7 separate regions of the Homo sapiens genome follow, and regions 1, 2, 3, 4, 6 and 7 are each linked to region 5. Evidence: promoter capture Hi-C in 16 types of primary human blood cells and fetal thymus (Javierre and others, 2016). All regions are on one chromosome and are shown on one strand. Each heading gives the region's core, a stretch centred on a gene start or on the middle of the fragment in contact. The rest is flanking DNA. Distances are from core to core; before and after follow the strand shown.

Region 1 (2,700 bases), core at 104-2,603, 200 kb before region 5:
CCTCTGGAGGGAGCCTGGTATTTATATCTTGATTTCAGACTTTTAGCCTTCAGAGCTGTGAGAGAATGAATTTCTGTTGCCTTGAACCACCAAATTTGTGGTAATCTATTATGGCAGCCCCAGGAAGTTAATACGGGAACCTTAGAGAGGTCATCTATTCCCACTCCTTCACCTAATAGATGAGGAAACTGAGGCATAAAGAAGGGAAGTGACTAAAGTCACACAATTTTTGGCACACTAACAGGGTCTTGCTCTGTTGCCCAGGCTGGAGTGCAGTGGCATGGCCTCAACCTTCTAGGTTCAGTTGATCCTCCCACCTCAGCTTCCCTTGTAGGTGGGACTACAGGCGCATGCCACCATACCTACAGCTAGCACCACCACACCCAGCTGTTTTTGTTTTGTTTTGTTTTGTATTTTTTGCAGAGACAGAGTTTCACCATGTTGCCCAGGCTGTTCTCAAACTCCTGGGCTCAAGCTATCTGCCCACTTCAGCCTCCCAAAGTGTTGGTATTACAGGCATTAGCCACTGTGCCCAGCCTGTGTCTTCTTTTTAAAACATCTTTATTGAGATATATAATTCACATACCACACAGTTCACTCATTTGAAGTGTACAATTCGATGTTTTTTTATTATATCCAGGGGATTATTAAAACATCGCTATAATCTTATTTTGGAATATTTTCACCACCTACCCCAAGAAACCCCATACTTGTCAGCAGTTTTGTCTGAGTCCTTTCTGGTTCCCTGTTTCAGGCATATTGGTTTCTTCTCCCCAACCAGACTTGGCTTCGCAGTGCCTTGTCTTTTGTATTCCTCTCTCATTGCCTAGTCAGCTGCTTCCCATGAGGCCATGGTTTGACTGGTTGCCCCAAACTCCCTTTACACGAGGAGTTCATCATTCTTTCTGGCTGGCACTGAAGATTCTTTGATGGGGCTCTGGCCCTGGTAGTTGGACTGCTGACCTGTGGGAAAACCCCACAACACATCATCCGCTGAACCAACCCTCAAAGGCATCAAGGTTGACTTGTTCTTCATTTATGTCTAAAGAGAAAGAGTCTGGAAACTGAGTCACACTGAAGGGCCAGACAGCTTTGGCTCCCTCTAGTATCTTCAGAGCAAGCTCCACTGGCTCACCTACCACTCCACTGAGGAAAAGCTGACCACTGGTGAGGGCTGGCTGGCACCTCTGGATGACCTAGAGGGCTGTATCTGGAAGCCTAAGTAGAAAAAAAGAAATAGAACATGCCATTGGGGGAACACTTTCTCTACATTGCTGGTGTTTTCTTTCTTGGGGCAGAAACCCTATTAAACAAACACTCCTGGCCTCTCTAGGCTCTGGCTGTCACTCTTGGCCCCAGGATGCAGAAAGCACCCCATGCACCTGCTGCTTTCTGTACATTTCCCAGGGCTATGTCCCCAGGAGTGAGAGACCTGTGTTTTCCATCGATAATTATGTTGGGTGGTGAGTCAGTCCACCATGTTTTTTTTCAATCAGTTATAAAGGTGAGTTTTGCTATCTGCCTCATTTCTTTGTCTCCGCTGGTCCAAAACTTGGATGAGAAAAAGAGACACGTTTTATATTAAGGTGGAAAATGGAGACATTACGTACCAACCACTTAAACCTCAAATACCTGAGTCCTCCATGGACTCTGAACCAGGCCCTGAGTTTTCTCACCTTGATGATGGCAACAGAGTTCCAAGAGCGTCCCAGCTTCCAGTGTCTCTCATCCCTTGAGAGCATTTAATTTACATTTCTAATGTGGAAGAGAAGAGATTAAAGTTTACCGAACCTCCACTAAGATGATTTCCTAGGTGCTTTGACATGGTGTTTTATTTATAACAACAACTCTGAGAGATAGTAACAGCAATAATTTACTGCATTCTTTCTTTCTTTTCTCTTTTTTTTTTTTTTTTTTGAGATGGAGTTTCACTCTTGTTGCCCAGGCTGGAGTGCAATGACACGATCTCAGCTCACTGCAACCTCTGCTGTGCTGGTTCAAGTGATTCTCCTGCCTCAGCCTCCTGAGTAGCTGGGATTACAGGTGCCTGCCACCACTCCCGACCAGTTTTTTTAAAAAATTATATTTATTTATTATTATTATTATTTTTTGAGACGGAGTCTCGCTCTGTCACCCAGGCTGGAGTTCAGTGGCACGATCTCGGCTCACTGCAAGCTCCGCCTCCCGGGTTCACGCCATTCTCCTGCCTCAGCCTTCCCAGTAGCTGGGACTACAGGAGGCTGCCACCATGCCCGGCTAATTTTTTTGTATTTTTAGTAGAGATGGGGTTTTGCCGTGTTAGCCAGGATGGTCTCCATCTCCTGATCTCGTGATCCACCCATCTCGGCCTCCCAAAGTGCTGGGATTACAGGCGTGAGCCACCGCACCCGGCCTCCCGACCAGTTTTTGTATTTTTAGTAGAGAAGGGGTTTCATCATGTTGGTCAGGCTGTTCTCGAACTTCTGACCGTAGGCGATCCACCTGCCTCGGCTTCCCAAAGTGTTGGGATTACAGGTGTGAGCCACTGGCATTATTTCTTTTCTTATGCTAGCTACTGGGCTGTTATACCTGCATCAGCTCGCTTTGTCCTTTTGGCTAATTGAGGCTCAATGAGACTGAGTAATTTGCTCAAGTTCATGCAGAAATTAGTGCTAGAATCAAGAATTTAGTTTATGATTAAAAAAATTTTTCCAGCACAGT
Region 2 (2,700 bases), core at 34-2,533, 170 kb after region 5:
CATAAGGAAGAGCTATACTTTAGAACTTGCTGGAAAACCACTCTCTGAAGTACTCTGTGGGTGGGGGGCATCTATGGGAGGATGCTTCTGTTTGCAACCTTCTGGCAAAATACCTTTGATGATGGTACTGCCTGGGAAGTAGCACTACTGGGCGTCCTACTTGTTACTAGACTTCACACACACAGCATGTCCAGGCAGATGAAAGCAGCCAGAAATGGGAAGAGAACTCCGTTTTAACTTCAGTGTCCCTTCACGCCTTCTACAGAAGAGCTTAACATCATGTCTGCTGGTAAAGGAGAAACATTCCAGTAACACAATCAGGACAAGTAAAGGTAGATTTGGAGCTAAAAGGCAATTACATTCTTAATTTTCTTTCTTTTTAAAATTTTGACAGAATTTAGATTTATTCATCCCTATGAGCCCTAGAATTATGTTAATGTCAGGAGATGTTTATAAAATATACTCCACTAAAATTTTTCTGAAAATTCTAACAAGGACATTTGAAACAAGGGTTACATAGGTCAATTACAATTTCACTCAGAAAAAACAATAGCACTCTTGATTTATTCAGTAGTTGTTTTTTAATATAGCATGAGTCACAAATAAGCTAGTTTTTCAACTAGGTCAACACTGACTTTTTTTGTGTGTGATAAGAACATTTAACATGAATCCACCCCCTGATCAAAAGGTATTGGTAACTGTAATCATATATTATGCCATTCTTGCATTGCTATAAAGAAATACCTGAGATTGGGTAATTTATAAAGAAAAGTGGTTTTGTTGGCTCATGATTTGCAGAATTTACAGGAAGCATGGTGCTGGCATCCACTTGGCTTCTGGTGAAGGCTCAGGGAACTTTCAATCATGGTGGAAGGTGAAGCAGGAGCGGGCACATCACATGACCAGAACAGGAGAGAGAGAGTTGGGGGAAGGTGCTGCAAATTTTGAAATGGCAAGATCTTGTGAGAACTTACTCACTATCATAAAAATAGACCAAGTCATGCGAAGTTCACCCCCATGACCGAAACACCTCCCACCTTCAGCACTGGTGATTACAATTCAACGTAAGATTTGTGTGGGGACAAATATCCAAACTATATCAATATTTCTCCGGCTCCTCCCAAATCTATGTCCTTCTCACATTGCAAAATATATTTATGCCTTCCTAAGAGTCCTCCAAAGTTTTAACTTGTTCCAGTGTTAACTCACAAGTCCGAAGTCCAGAGTCTCATCTTTGACAAGGAAAGTCCCTTTCATTCATGAACCTATAAAATCAAAACCAAGTTATTTACTTCCAAGATACAATAGGGATACAGGTATTGGGTAAACGTTGCTATCCTAAAAGAAAGAAATTGGCCAAAAAAATAGGGGCTATAGGCCCCAAGCAAGTCCTAAAGCCAGGAGGGCAGTCATTAAATCTTAAAGCTCCAAAATAATATCCTTTGACTCCATATTCTACATCCAGGTCACACTGCTGCAAGCTCCTCAGAGAGGTGTCAGTCATGGCTCTCAAGGCTTAGGGCAGCTGTATCCCTATGGCTTTGCAGGGTTGAATACCCATGGCTGTTTCCACGGGTTGGTGTTGAGTGTTCTTGGCTTTTCCAGGTGCAGAGGGCAAGCTGACAGTGGATCTTCCTTTCTGGGGTCTGGAGGATGGCGGTCCCCTTCTCACAGCTCCACTAGGCAGTGCCCCAGTGGGAACTCTGGGGCGGGGGGCAAACCCACATTTCCCCTCTGCATTGCCATAGTAGAGGTTCCCTGTGGGGTTCCCCACCCCTGCAGCAGGCCTCTGTCTGGGCACTCAGGCTTTTCCATATGTCCTCTGAAATCTAGGCAGATGGTGCAAATTCTCATTCACTCTGAACTCTGTGTGCCTACAGGCTTAAAATCATGTGCAAATTGCCAAGGCTTACAGTGGCTTGAACTCTCCAAAGTAGCATGTTGAGCAGTACCTGGGCCCCTTTGAGCCCCAGTTGAAGCTGGAGCAGCAGGATGCAGGGAGCAGTGTCATGAAGCTGTGTGTGTGGCAGTAGGGATTCTGGGCCTTTAATGGAAGGGGCTGCCACAGAGGTCTCTGAGATGCCTTCAAGGCTTTTCCCCCATTGTCTTGACTATCAGCACTTGGCTCCTTCATAGGTATGCAAATTTCTTTTTTTTTCTTTTTTTTTTTTTTTTTTTGAGATGGAGTCTTGCTCTGTCACCCAGGCTGGAGTGCAGTGGCATGATCTCGGCTCACTGCAAGCTATGCCTCCCAGGTTCACGCCATTCTCCCGCCTCAGCCAGAGTAGCTGGGACTACAGGCGCCCACCACCGCACCCAGCTAATTTTTTTTTTGTATTTTTAGTAGAGATGGGGTTTCACCATGTTAGCCAGGACAGTCTCGATCTACTGACCTTGTGATCCGTCCACCTCAGCCTCCCAAAGTGCTGGGATTACAGGCGTGAGCCACCACGCCTGACCCACTTAAGTATGCAAATTTCTTTAGTAAAGTGGTTGTTCCACAACCTGCTTGAATTCTTCTCCCCTCAAGAGCTTTTTCTTCCTTTGCCACATTGCCAGGCTGCAGATTTCTCAAACTTTTATTCTCTACTTTCCTTTTAAATATAAGTTTCAGCTTTAAGGTATTCCTTTGTGCCCACATCTGAGTTAGGTTGTTAGAAGCAGCCAGGCCACATCTTGAATGCTTGGCTGCTTAGAAAT
Region 3 (2,700 bases), core at 116-2,615, 150 kb after region 5:
AAGAAAGAGTTAAAATTATGTTTAAAAGATATTATAATAATAAACAGTAGAATAATACTTCTACAGGAAAATAATTTGCAGTGACAAAATGGCCTTGTTTGCCATCATCATACTATAGCCATCATTAATTAAAAAGGCAGTAGAAGATAAACATAAATTTGCCATTCTGTGCACCACATTTCTTTACTTACAGCTTATAAAGTGGGATCCTATGGAGAATGGTCCTGTACCGGCCTAAGAATCAAAAAAGGTCTTATTTGAAAAGATTATCTCCTTCTTTGTCCAATGTCTACCATCAAAGTTTTTTTTATTTTCACCTGTTTCATGAAGTATTACCTGATTTCCATTCTTCAAAACACCATAGCATTGTAAGCTTTACTTATACTTCTTACTGAGCTCTGACATATTGAGCTGATTATGTACATATCTTATTTTCTCTAATGGACAATCAACAACGTGAAAGGAAGTAATTTATTATACCGATACATTAACTCCTCCTAAATGTCTTTTATATCCCTGACATTCAGGAGATAACTAATACATGTCTCTTAACTTTAATTGAATAAATGACTTCTTGGTCTAGCTAAGAAAAACATCTGAAACTACATGTGAAAGTGTAGCAATATTTATGTCCCCCATAACAGTAATTAAAAATAACAATGACAATGATAATTTATTTTGCTCATTAATCTCTTAAATGGGAGAGGGCTTATAAGATTGGCTTGTCTTAACTCCATACAATGTCAACTGAGCTGCTCAACTAGAATTGAGGGACCCACTTCCATTTGGCTCATTTACACGGCTGGCAAAATGATGCTGATTTGTAGTGGAGCTGAGTCAGGGCTATAGGTTGTGAGAGTCAGTATCTCTCCATGTGGCCCTTTTCATGGGGTTCTATAAACTTTCTCACAACATCATGACTGGTTTCAAAGACTAAACATTCCAAGAAACAGAAAGAGGAAGCTGCTAGTCTTTTAAGGCATAATACCAGCAGGTTGTCTGCTCCTGACACCCAAAAAGACAATGATGTGATGGGCATAGGAATAGCAATGGACATTCCCTTGTGAAAAAGGAGGAAATTAGACACATCACAGTCATTGGTCCATAGAAATTCTGAAATTCATCTGGACACTGTTGCCAGTCCTATTTTCTGGGAATGAATTCCATGACTCTTAGATCTAACCTGTGATGCCATTTCCCCACTTTCTGATCATCCTTTTTTATCTGCAAGACATAGCTACAATTTGCAGACATGTCATTTCTTAGTCTGATACCTCCATGGAAGAAGTTGAGGGTCCAAAGGTCTATTCATTTCTGTTTGCTCTGTAGCCTTTAGCACATGTTGATAGAATGCCTTTTTAAAACTTGGTGAGTTTCTTATGTTTCAGTTTATAAATTAATTCCATTAGATAAAAGTCACATCCATATTCATTTCTTTATTATGGGTCACTTGTGAGGTAGCAGTATTAATAACTGCTGTATGGCAATTCCCTTAAGATTCTTAAAAAGACTTATTGCTTAACTTTAAGGAGTCAGGCCCTTAGGATATTTATAAATCTTGTTGGGTATAGCCTAAAATATTTCTGAGTTCTAACAAAAAGTATTACAGCTACATTCTTAAGAGGTTTACCCTGAGGCATTGGTTTCCTGATAGCACCTTGGATTTGATTTCTTCCTTGAAGCCATTTTGTACCTTGAGAGTCTTTGTTGAGAGAGACTGTGCATGAGAAACATCTTTATTTGCAAACCCAACAAGTTTTGTTTCTTTCTGTTTCCTCTAAATTCTCAGAAACTTAAGAAACTTTAAAAAATTATGTACTTTTAAATTGACAAATAGTCATTGTTCATATTCCTTAGGTGCATAGTAATATTCTGATATAAATAATGTTATAGGGATCAGATCAAGGTAATTAGCATATCATCATCTCAAACATTTATCATTTCTTCATGTTGGGAATGTTCAACACCCTCCTTCTGGCAATTTGAATCTATACATTACTGTTAACTATAGTCATCCTACAGTAGCAAAGAACACTGTAACTTATTCCTTTATCTAGCTGTAATTTTGTATCCTTTAGCAAATCTCCACCTATCCTTCCCTTTTCTCTACTATTCCCTTCCTCTAGTATCCTGCTGTCTACTCTCTTTTCATATTTTATCATTGGTTGGAATTTTCTATAGTCTTCCTAGAAATTTACCCAGGAAGATAATGAGATTACTAAATAGTCTATTTTCCAGGCTGTAGCATGTGGTCCTGCTGCCAAACTTTAGAGCAATGGATAATAAGTATCCATGTTTTACCTAAGTATGATAACAGTTTCCTCTCTGTCCTTCAAATATTTTTCTCTCTGTGCTTCAAAGCTTTACCAAGAGTTGCCTTATGATCCTTTCACCTTTTAGTAAGAGACTCCTTAAGTCCTTATGGATTATTTATACCACCAATTGCAAAATTAATGCCAAATGTTTTAAATGTTGATTATAACAGCACCCTGCCTTTAGATACCAAATTCTGTTCTCATTATTTACTGCTGCATAATCAACTCTCTACAACTTTAGTTGCTTAAATGAGCTGTAATTATTTTGCACACAAGTCTGCAATTTTGGCAGGGCTCAGTGGGGACAGCTGGAATTTGTTCTTTGTCCCAGCAGGTTGGATGATTCAATTGGGGCTGAAGGATTTACTTTCAAGATTGCTCACTT
Region 4 (2,700 bases), core at 154-2,653, 220 kb before region 5:
GTATATAGTATCTTAGGGGAGACCAGGAATTGCAAGAAGGGTATAATCGTAGGTGGAGGAGACAAACCTGCGATGTGTTGGTGATTCGAGAGGCTAGGTTCTTCTTTTAAAACTCATTCATTCATGCATTCGGTACTGGACACCGTGCTAAGTCTCTGGGGTATGGACAGAAGTAAATTATGGTTTCTGTCCTTTAGGAATGTGTAGTCCAATAGCAGAGACGTACCTGTATGCAAATAACTATAAACGTGATGTCATCGCTAAATACTAGGAGTCTGAACAAAGTGCTATCTTAGCAGGAAGAGGAAGCGATTACTTCTGATGGTCGAATTCAAAGTGAGGAGACTGTAACTTCCGAGAAGGATGAGAAGGGCAGCCGGCTTTTTCTCATGAAGAAAGGCATCCCGGGCAAAGGCACCGAGCTCTTGGTGTGGTTCTCCTGGGATAAGCCCACAGTCACAAACTTGTGCAGGAATGGGGGTACCGGGAAGCAGCCCGGTGTTCCAAGCCTTTTGAGATTCTCCGGACCTGCGCGCCGCCCGCTCGGCAGGGGGCTCGGCAGGCGCGGGCGGCGGGTGGGGGCGGGAGGCTCTGCCCGCTCGGTGGCTGCCGCGGCCTCCTCCGCGCTGCTCTCCACGCCTGGCTTATTATGCACGAGGCAGGCAATTTGCCTTCCTCCCCGGGGACCCATCTCGGAGACAAGAAGGTAGTTTGTTCTCTGTAATGGCTTCTGCTGGAGTGCGGCGGGGCCCAGGCGCGAGCGGGGGCACGGGCGGGGAGTTGGCAGCGAAGGATGCGCCCGGCGCCCCCCGGCGGCCGCCCGGAGCCCGAGGTCGGCGCGGGAGGAGCGCTGACTCCGCGGGCCGAGCCCTCCCCTGCCCTCCTCTGCTCCTCCGTAACTCCTGAGCTGTGGCCTGCCTTTCTGCTGCCTCCACGTCCCTACTCTTCCTTTCTGCCACCCCGTTTGCTTCTTAAAGGTTGTCCTTTGTTTCTGCCATTTCCCCTGTCTTTCAGCTTCATATTCGTTGGGTGCCCCCATCCATTTCTCCACATCACTCTCTTCTTAGTGCTGGGGACCTGGGGGTGAGGAAGGAGGCAGGAGGGATACAGGGATGACTAAAATAGGCATCTCTTCCTTCACGGAACTCAGCCTGGCGGAAACTTAGCTGGCTCCCTGCCTGTCCTAGGCCATCTCTCCTTTTCCTTCTTGTCTCTTCATCGTCTGTTTCTCAGTCGACCCTGGCCTCTGTCCCTATGCCCACAGAAAGACACCCCCATCACCCCTCCCATCGTTTCCGGGTGATGAAGATTGTCTGAGACAGATTCCTAGAATGAACAACCTTGTCTCCTGAGGTCTCGCCCGTTGCCTCCTCATTCACCAGAAATGTTTCCTTCCCTGAAGCAGAGAGAGAGAGAGAGAGACAGAGAGAGACAGAGATCCAAAGACAGCCAAGCCGGGCCAACATCTTCTGGGGAGTTCTTTGGAGTGTGGGGTGACTGATGCATCCAGTTGGCCGGTTGACTATCTTCCCAACTGTAAGATTCCCAGAATGGCTCAGAAAGAAGCTGAGGAGTGCACACAAACATTTAAAAAATTGGCCAGTCGTGGTAGCTCACGCTTGTAATTCCAGCACTTTGGGAGGCCGAGGCAGGCAGATCATGAGGTCAGGAGTTCGAGACCAGCTTGGCCAACACAGTGAAACCCCATCTCTACTAAAAATACAAAAATTAGCCAGGCATGGTGGCAGGCACCTGTAGTTCCAGCTACTTGGGAGGATGAGGCAGGAGAATCGCTTGAACCTGGGAAGCAGAGGTTGTAGTGAGCCGAAATCATGCCATTGCACTCCAGCATGGGCAACAGAGCAAGACTCCGTCTCAAAAAAAAAAAAAAAAAAGTAAAAAATTTAAAAAATTTAAAAAGGGGGCCAAGGGCCGGGCACAGTGGCTCACTCCTGTCATCCCAACACATTTGGGAGGCCGAGGCTGGCAGATAATCTGAGGTGAGGAGTTCGAGACCAGCCTAGCCAACATGGAGAAACCCCATCTCTACTAAAAGTACAAACATTAGCCGGGCGTGGTGGCAGGCACCTGTAATCCCAGCTACTCTGGAGGCTGAAGTAGGAGAATCACTTGAACTCGAGAGGTGGAGGTTGCAGTGAGTTGAGACTGCACTCTAGCCTGAGTGACAGAGCGAGACTCTATCTCAAAAAATGAACAAATAAATGAAAATTAAAAAGAACTGAGGATACCTGGCCTGTCTCCCAGGGGTCCTGTGTAGAATTATTCCCAGCTCTCACCCCCACCCATACCCTCACCATAACACCAGGCCATGGATGATGTGTCCGTGCAGATGTCTGTATAGAGGTGTATGAGCACTGAACGGAGTGAGTGGTGGCATGCCATTTACATACAGATGACTGAGCTGTGGGCCCTTGGTTACTTACCTCATCTCTCGAGTCTCAGTTCTCTTTTCTGTAAAATAAGGAGGTTGTATTCCATGGACTCAGAAGTCTACAACTGTGTTAATCTATGACTATGTTAGGGGTAGAGACCAAGGAGAATATCCCAACAAGAGAGTGTCCTCTGTGTCTTTGTGGACTTAGGAAGGTTCTCTATAGAAGAGAGTGGCTGAGTAGGCCGGGGGTAGGAAAGGAAAAGGAGCAGGTAAGGCTTGGGGTAGGTGTGTATCTAACAGATCTG
Region 5 (2,700 bases), core at 19-2,518:
TGATAACATTTAGACATTTTCAGAAACAAGAGCATTGAGAAAAATGTGCATGCCATGAAGACAAAGGTATGTGATAAAGGAGTACAGTGAGTATGAAAGGAGAGGTGAGGCAGAGCGTGGTGCAGTCAGGAGTGCAGCATTCCAGAGTGAGTGGAGGTTCCCAGCAAGAGGAGGGTGCGGGGAGGAGATGATTGAAAAGATGGATTAGGGGAGAAAGCCACACGTTAGATCACTCAGGCACAGGGTAGGAGAAGTAAGGGCCCTTGAGGAGAAGTTTCACATAAGACAAACCAGCAGCTGGTTACAAAGTGGAAGACAGTCTGAGAGTAAGAGAAGAGTGCAGAGGCAGCAAGAATCTGAAATATGAGGTGTGATGGTGTGAAGCTGGAGTGAGAGACTACTCAAGAAAAGCATGTGCGTGCATTTGGGTAAAATAGAAAGGAAGGGAGAAGCATCAGAGAGAGCAACACTTTGCAAAAAAGAGAGAAAAGAGAGTCCTTGAGACTCTTCCCAGTTCGGTGGACTAGACTCACATTTCATCTGGAAATCACCGGCAAAGTCTTGTACTTCTCGAGCGAATCCAAAGATGTAGACTCGGAATATCTCCTCTAACTCAGCAACCTCCTTATCACTAAAGTTACCTTTAGACCAAGGCTTCAGGAATATGGCAGTGCCTGAGTCGCTATCCCAGCCATGAATCTGCAAATCATCCAACCAGCCTGAGCCTTGAGTTTGTGCCCAGGTACTATTGGTAAAGGACGAGGTCTGGATAACATGAAAGGAGGTCGGCCCCTGGAAGGCTGTGAAGAGTGGAAAAGCAAGATGGTGAAGATAAAGAGAGAAGCAGGAGACAATTAGGAAGAATGGGAATGAAAATGATTTAGAAAACAAGAACCTAGAGTCTAAAGAACACAGGAAGTCTGACACATTTGACTGCCTTAAGGCTTCAGGTTCTAGTCCCAACCACCAGAATGGTTGAAGAGGGCGGGAGACAGAAAGACCCAGACCCTTAGTGTCCAATTGCACCTAGGAAAGCCCTGCTTGCTTTTTAAAATCCAAACCCCTGCACCAGTGCTGGGAGCTGCCAGAGTGACTCTTACCATGTTCACTGTTACCACCAGGAAAGAGAACAGCTAACAGTTGAAATGGCAGCAGCAGCATTTCACTGGGAGATGCAACTTCTTACTGGCAGAGCTGGTATTTGATCTCCAATTTCAGCAAAGCTTTTCCTCAGTACCCTGTAGTGACTTCTTCTCTCTTCCAACTGCCAAATCTCTTCCTCATCCAAACTGCTTTTCAGAGAAAAATGTGCCTCCCACAGCCCTGAGCCTCTTACCTCACCTTTTATTTCCCTCAAGCCCTGATTTTTAGAGTTTCTCTTACCCCCTGACTTCCAGCCGCTCTCCCTGTCCTCACCTTCCTTCATACCTCCTTGGAAAAGCCCCCATATGATTCTGCATTTTCATTTCTCCTTCCTTAGCCTTTATTCCCACATCTATAGGATAAGATGGTGATATTAAGCAATTGCTAAGCTTTTAGTCTGCTTTAACCCAGAAGGATGCTTTTAGTTTATCCACCTCACTTAGTTTCTCCCCCTCCCAGCTGCCTTATCTTCTCTGGCACTCTGTTACTGCCTCTTCCCAATGTTTTCAATGTCTTCTCTTTCTTATATTGCCCTCTTTGTCTGGTGTTCCTTACCCCACATTCTAAACTGGCTGTGAGTGTGTGTGTGTGTGTGTCTGTGTCTGTGTGTGTATGTGTATGTGTGTGTACCGATATTCACTTACATAAAGGCAAAGCATTTAAAACATTTCCTGTACTATAGCACTACAAACCAAAATGCCAGAATCAAATATAATAAAGACTGAAGTTTATAATTCAAACAAAATTATACTATAGCAATATTTGAGGGAAAAAATGACAATTGCTGCTAGCATGTGACCTTCTCTTCAGGAGCTCTTGGCCTATGGAGTTTTGAGTAACAAATATTCATGACATAAACAGAACTCTAGGAGCTATGCTATGTGCACCTCCAGCCTAAGTCAAAGATAACTTTTTGGGTAAGTTGCCATAAGCGGCAGAGCTTTTTTCTTCTCTTGTAATATCTCATAACTGCTGTCTACATTTGGGCATTCATATCACCACATGTGGTATTAATAATAGAGCAAAGAGGTTGCTTTTTTTTATACAAAAAGTTCAGAGATACTTGTTTTAAGATGTCACCTCCTATCTTCTTGTATGCCCATGAAAAATTTTAAGAAGAATTTTTGGATTTTCTCCATTTAGGAAAAAAATCACATATTTGCAGAGATCTATGTATCATGCAGAAATGTGGCAGCAATCGATTCCGAGTAAAGAGGGTTATCACTAACTAATTCTATTATGTGGATAAGAAAATGCAAAGTGAGTAGTGTAGTGTTCTCTATTCCTGGGGACACTACTGGTTCACAACATTAATAAGACTGGTTCACAACATTAATAAGACTAGCCTTCATCCAAGATTATTACTGCCTAATTGATAAATACAGAGCAGCTCTCCAAATTTCAATGTATGTATCTCTTAACAACATTCCCAGACTCCAATACATGACAGAATTGAATCTACTTTTTGGATAACAGCCATAGACAACAGCAGAGACTTAACATTGGCTGTCACAGACATGAACATTACTATTTTTGTGTTTATACGTTTTTTATTTT
Region 6 (2,700 bases), core at 55-2,554, 150 kb before region 5:
TGGAATTTGGACTGGAGTTATTTAGCTTGGCAATTTCCTCTTCTCTCTTAAGATCTTTCTCCTTTTCCTCAATAGTCTCAATGTCGTGCTTTTTTATTTGGTCCTTTTCCTTATGTTTTTTAGACTTCTTTTTGGACTTTTTGTGAGACACTGAATGGTTTTCTTCCATAGGCTTTGGACACTTTAATAGAACTGAACCAGGGGGTAAGGTTTCCAGAGAAGTCCTAGAGGTATACTTGTCTTGTTGGTTCTCATAGATACTATTGTTTTGACTAAAACTGTCAACAGGTAGGTCTTGAGCCCCCGGCCTTCTGGAGTGCTAGGGGAATTGGAGTTAGAATTTACAATCTGAGGAGGATGTGAAACCGGCAGATGGGTTGAAGGCAAGCGGTGGAGGGGTGGGGATGGCAGCAGCTGCAGGGGGCAGAGGGAGGCCTGCAGCAGATTTTTCACTGGTGGGATTCAAATGACCATTTAGTGTTGGTGGTACTCTGCTCGTCAGGTGAGATATTCGGGCTTTTTTATCCATTAAATGATCAATAAACTCTGAATCCAAAAGCCGTGTCTGAGGAGAAGATACAGCGTTTCTACTAGAACATACTGGAGATTCTGAACGGCTGGTGCCTGCAGCATTCTGAGATGGATTTAGTTTTCTAGAGAGCATTGACTCCAATGACCAAGTGTCTATTTCACTGTATCCAGGCCAGTCTCTCTGAAGCTCTTTAAAAACATAATCCTTTGAAGTATACGAGAGGTCCTTAGGATTCAGATTGGCTACCTGTTGCAGAATTGCTCCCAGGGAGTTCCTGTCTTTTTGATTGACACCATCTTTCTGGAGTCTAGCAAGTAGCTCCGGTTTCTTGTAGGCCTTCAGGGCCAGTAAGTGAACCACCCTGTCCCTGTATGGCTTCTGAGAGACGCTGCTGCTGCTGTGTGTCTATCGAATTGGATTTGCAGGGTTCATGGGGGTTGACCTTTTCCTCTCAGGAACTGTATCTGAAACAGCTTGAGGTGCTTTCCGAATTTGCACTCTTTTCCCTACATATGGTCCACCGGGTTTGATAACTTCTGTGCTTCGGTTGCGGGATTCCTCCTCTGCCTGGGTCGTTCTTTCTCGTGTCATCTGATCCGAGTCGTTTGTTGCACACACTGTAATTTTATCTTGTATAAATCCCAGGCAATTGAGCTGGGAGGCTCCAGAGCTGGAGAATGTTTGCTGGACGCAGTCAAAGCTGCCCTGAGGGTTGTCTTTGCCCACATTTGACAAATAAAAGTTAAAGTTATGAACTTCATTGAGGGGATCATTTTTGGGAATTTTGACAAGCTCCTGGAGTCTTTGGAACTGAATTGAAGGTCGAAAAGAAATTAAATTCTTGTGGCTCTGGTAAGTCTGGAGCGCCTGGATCGCCGACTCGGTGAGCTTCACATGCAGTACGGTGATGTTGTCCTGCCCCAGCCGTCCGCACGAGAGCCCATAGCGCTGCCCCGCGACCCCCCCACCCCCGACATCTTAAACTCCCAGAGGTGCCGCCGCCGCCAGTCCAGCTCCAGCCTCCACTGCGGCCGCAGCTGCTTGGGCTTCTGCAGCCGCCGCCACTGCTAGGGCCATCCCGCTGCTGGCGTACTGTCATATACTGCGCGGAGCCAGACCTCGGACTGCCATCGCCGCCACCTGCCCCACCCTCTGGCCCCGCGCCCCGCCCCAGGCTAGTCTCATTGGTCTAGTTCCCTCAGAACCGTCCTCATCGGCCGCCCTCCACTTTCACGGGGGCGGGGCCCAAAGTCGCTGGAGTTTTGCTCCTGGGACTGGACGTCCGAGAGGTAAGAGAGCTATCACAAGGTTTTCTAATCCTTATGTTTCTTTTAGTGGATCTCCAGGTTACTGTGGTTTGTATTATCAGGCTACTTACAAAAATGAATACCTCTTTAAATCAGGCCATTTTACAGCAAACTACGGTCCTTGATCACCATTATGCTCTGAATAAAGACTATGAGCAATTGCACTTGAATGCTGTTAAACTTTATTGACTGAACTTTGAATTGTTTGATTTTGATCAGGTTGGCTTGTGGAAAGTGCTATTAAGAAGAGTTCTTTAGTTCGTTGGTATTATCCTCCTGATAGCTATTATAAAAGTTTCCCTGATGTGTCCTCTCAAGAATCTTAAATTCTCATATGCAGCTATCCTTTGTACATTAAATGGTCTCCTTATGGTTAGGATAACAAAAACATGAAGAAAGCATATAAGATTCCAACTAATTTGACGTTGTGAATTGTGAATTCTGAACTGAAACCAAGTAAGTCCCTTATGATCAGGCTCCAAGGTTTTGGTCAGCCTCTCAAAATTGAGAGGCTGAAACCCTTTGACCAAAATTAACACATTTGCCCCTTCCCTCCAGCTCCTGGAAACCACTACCCTAACTCTGTTTCCATAAAATAGTAAACTATTTTAGAGTCCACATATAAGTGAGATCATGTAGTACCCACCGTGGGCTTATTTTAAGGCTCTGAGTAAATCACCATCTCTCTGTGCTAGGGTATTCTGAGTCAGTCTTGTTATAAAATATTTTGTTTAGGTAACATATTGCAAAACGTTTCATAATTCAATGGTTCCTTTCCCAGAAAAAAAGCAGTGAAAGTTCCAATAGCCAAAAAGTGTCTAACTCAACTGACCTTTGGGAAAAAATATCCGTATAATTCCA
Region 7 (2,700 bases), core at 2-2,501, 170 kb before region 5:
ATAAGGTGTAGGAATAAATAATTTGAGACAGTGTTGATGGCAGGCACAAACTGAGTGGCTTAAAACAATGAAATTTCTCAAATTTACAGTTCTAGAGGTAAGAAGTCTGAAATGAGTCTCACTGTGCTAAAATCAAGGCATCAGTAGGACATGTTGTCACAGGGTGAACCTCAAAACTGGGGCTCAGCCTGGGAGGCCACATGGCTTCTTGGCTTCACACAGAAAAGAATTCAAGATTGAGCCAACAGAGTAAAGTGAAAGCAAATTTAGTAAAAAGTAATGGAATAAAAAGTGTGGCTACCCCATAGGCAGAGTAGCCCTGAGAGCTGCTGGTTGGCTATTTCCACGGTTATTTTTGATCATAGCTAAACAAGAGGTGGACTCTTTATGAATTTTCTGGGAAAGGAAAGGGGCACGGAATTCCTGGAATGAGGGTTCCCTCCGTTTTTCGACCATATCTTTCCACCATAACTTTGGGATGTTGCCTGGCATTTGTAAACTGTCTTGGCAGCTGGTGGGAGTGTCTTTTAGCATGCGGATACATTATAATTAACATATAATGAGGAGTGAGGATGACTAGAGGCCGCTTTCGTCACCATCTTGGTTCTGGCTGATTTTGGCTGGCTTCTTTACTGTATGTTGTTTTATCAGTGGGGTCATTGTGACCTGTGTCTTAAAAACCAAGTCCTGCTGAACTCCTATTTCAATGTGATTGTTACCAAGTTAGTGAAGAGGAGATTTGGGTCAGGGAGGTATGGCAGGGAACCCGATCCCACAGGCCTTGTGGGCCATTGTAAGGGCTCTGAGTGAGATCTGAGCCACTGGAAGGGCCTCAGCATATGAATAATGTGATGTGACACATTTAGTTTCTTTTTTTTAATTATTTTTTGAGACAAGGTCTCACTCTGTCACCCAGGCTGGAGGGTAGTGGCATGATCATAGCTCACTGCAGCCTCAATCTACCCAGATTAAACAGTCCTCTTGCCTCAGCCTCCTGAGTAGCTGGGACCAAAGACACGCATCACCATGCCCAGCTAATTTTTAAATTTTTTGTAGAGATAGTGTTTTGCTTTGTTACCCAGGCTGGTCTTGAACTGCTGGGCTCAAGTGATCCTCCCGCTCAGCCTCCCAAAATGCTAAGATTACAGGCATGAACCCTATGTGTGACCTGACATATTTTAAAAGGCTCTCTCTGTGTTACGATTAAGAACTGTAGGATGCAAAGGTAGGGCAGAGAGGGAGACCAGTGAGGAAGCTCTTGTAATAGCCTGAGTGAAAACAAGAAAAAGGAAACCTGGTGATAGGGGCCCAGGTAGTTGTAGTAGAGGTGGTGAGCGGTGGTAGCATGTTGTTGGATATATTTTAAAGGTGGATTTGATAGATTTCCTCATGGGATGGATGTGAGCTGGAGAAAAGAAAGGAGGACATAACGATTCTGTTTTTTGCTTCAACAACTGTAGGAAAGGAGGTGCCAGTGATTAAGAAGAGAAAACTGGTATAGGGTAGGCCTGGCTCCTCTCCAGCGCATAATAATGTAGTAAATATGTGCACCACTGTGATCAATCCAAGTACCACAACTCTGTGAGGGGGCATTAATGGACTCCATTTTCCAATGAGGAAATTCAGATTCAGGAAGGTAGGGGTCTTGTGCAAGTTAACACAGCCAGTATAAATTAAATTTGGTGCTGAAACAAGGACTTGCTGGCTGGTCCTGTAGTTCTCACAAGCTCTCAGGCTTGCCTCAGCTTTTCACAGTTGATAGCACCACAATAAAGACACAAACAGGCCTCTAATGTCCTCTTATTGTTCATGACCTGACCTAACTACTTTATTTTACTTATCTATTTATTTATTTGGAGATGGAGTTTCACTCTTGTTGCCCAGGCTGGAGTGCAATGGTGCGATCTCAGCTCATTGCAACCTCTGTCTCCTGGATTCAAGCAATTCTCCTGCCTCAGCCTCCCGAGTAGCTGGGATTACAGGCATGTACCACCACGCCCGGCTAATTTTGTATTTTTAGTAGAGACGGGGTTTTGGCATGTTGGTCAGGCTGGTCTAGAACTCCTGACCGCAGGTGACCCACCTGCCTTGGCCTCCCAAAGTGCTGGGATTACAGGTGTGAGCCACCTCACCCGGCAGACCCAACTACTTTAGCTCCTCCCACATATCTTACCAATTTGCTGCAAATTATCTTTTCTCACCTTGTGATTCATAGTCCCTTCTGGCCCCCTCAGACCTGATTCTAGGCACTACTTGCCAGATAATAATCTTTTACCTTGTCATGGTTTCTTACATATGCTTCTTTGGAATCTACTGGGGTTTCTTGATTGGTAACTGGATATTTTAAAACACAGACTTAATAGGGAGCATGTGTCTCTGCTTTTACAGTTTGCATGTATAATTCAAATCTGGGTTTTTATATTCATATACAGCCTTGGGAAAAGTTTTTTAAAAAGATTAGTTTGTATACATATTTTATTCATATAGCAATTTTGCTGGGTCTGAGCTTTGAATGAGGGTGATATCTTTATGATCATTTTAGCTTCTCATAGATTTAACTTGACAGTATAAAGCTTAAAAAATCAGGCAGTTACCAAACAATTATATTAGGTGATAATTCTTAACTACAGAAAAAGATGAATCGCTAGGTTTTTTTTATATGGAATTTTTTCTCTACAGATGAGTATTTGCTACCAGATA

Evidence for each region. Contacts are between HindIII fragments. The CHiCAGO score rates a contact against its expected background, and 5 or more counts as called.
Region 1: a contact is called between a fragment that was not itself captured here and the fragment with the promoter of CD1B in region 5, in 1 of 17 cell types (fetal thymus). The highest score is 6.5, in fetal thymus.
Region 2: a fragment that was not itself captured here is called in contact with the fragment with the promoter of CD1B in region 5 in 2 of 17 cell types (fetal thymus and M2 macrophages); the score reaches 18.7 in fetal thymus.
Region 3: a contact is called between a fragment that was not itself captured here and the fragment with the promoter of CD1B in region 5, in 3 of 17 cell types (fetal thymus, M2 macrophages and M0 macrophages). The highest score is 29.0, in fetal thymus.
Region 4: a contact is called between a fragment that was not itself captured here and the fragment with the promoter of CD1B in region 5, in 1 of 17 cell types (fetal thymus). The highest score is 5.1, in fetal thymus.
Region 6: a fragment that was not itself captured here is called in contact with the fragment with the promoter of CD1B in region 5 in 1 of 17 cell types (fetal thymus); the score reaches 12.9 in fetal thymus.
Region 7: a contact is called between a fragment that was not itself captured here and the fragment with the promoter of CD1B in region 5, in 1 of 17 cell types (fetal thymus). The highest score is 5.4, in fetal thymus.

What each region holds. Positions count from the first base shown.
Region 1 is chr1:158,131,439-158,134,138 of GRCh38, forward strand. It overlaps LINC01704 (long intergenic non-protein coding RNA 1704), which reads right to left. Exons shown (of 3, transcript NR_033946.1): 2 at 1,677-1,755; 3 at 606-1,218. Among named protein-coding and RNA genes, the nearest start is that of SMIM42, 4.5 kb to the left of the region's middle. The HindIII fragment of the contact is 9,432 bases long and covers 1-2,700 here.
Region 2 is chr1:158,499,743-158,502,442 of GRCh38, forward strand. No RefSeq gene overlaps it. Among named protein-coding and RNA genes, the nearest start is that of OR10R2, 29 kb to the left of the region's middle. The HindIII fragment of the contact is 6,418 bases long and covers 1-2,700 here.
Region 3 is chr1:158,482,942-158,485,641 of GRCh38, forward strand. All of the region lies in intron 2 of LOC107985213 (a long non-coding RNA gene), which reads right to left. Among named protein-coding and RNA genes, the nearest start is that of OR10R2, 12 kb to the left of the region's middle. The HindIII fragment of the contact is 1,988 bases long and covers 372-2,359 here.
Region 4 is chr1:158,112,885-158,115,584 of GRCh38, forward strand. No RefSeq gene overlaps it. Among named protein-coding and RNA genes, the nearest start is that of SMIM42, 14 kb to the right of the region's middle. RefSeq lists an enhancer at 2,322-2,371. The HindIII fragment of the contact is 8,494 bases long and covers 1-2,700 here.
Region 5 is chr1:158,330,263-158,332,962 of GRCh38, forward strand. CD1B (CD1b molecule) reads right to left here and starts at 1,269. Exons shown (of 6, transcript NM_001764.3): 1 at 1,101-1,269; 2 at 534-800. The coding sequence starts at 1,161. The HindIII fragment of the contact is 309 bases long and covers 1,222-1,530 here.
Region 6 is chr1:158,176,248-158,178,947 of GRCh38, forward strand. It overlaps the pseudogene ELL2P1 and a transcript of CD1D not described here. Among named protein-coding and RNA genes, the nearest start is that of CD1D, 3.3 kb to the right of the region's middle. The HindIII fragment of the contact is 3,494 bases long and covers 1-2,700 here.
Region 7 is chr1:158,157,389-158,160,088 of GRCh38, forward strand. The region is part of intron 1 of LOC105371460 (a long non-coding RNA gene); the gene reads left to right. Among named protein-coding and RNA genes, the nearest start is that of LINC01704, 18 kb to the left of the region's middle. The HindIII fragment of the contact is 2,640 bases long and covers 1-2,571 here.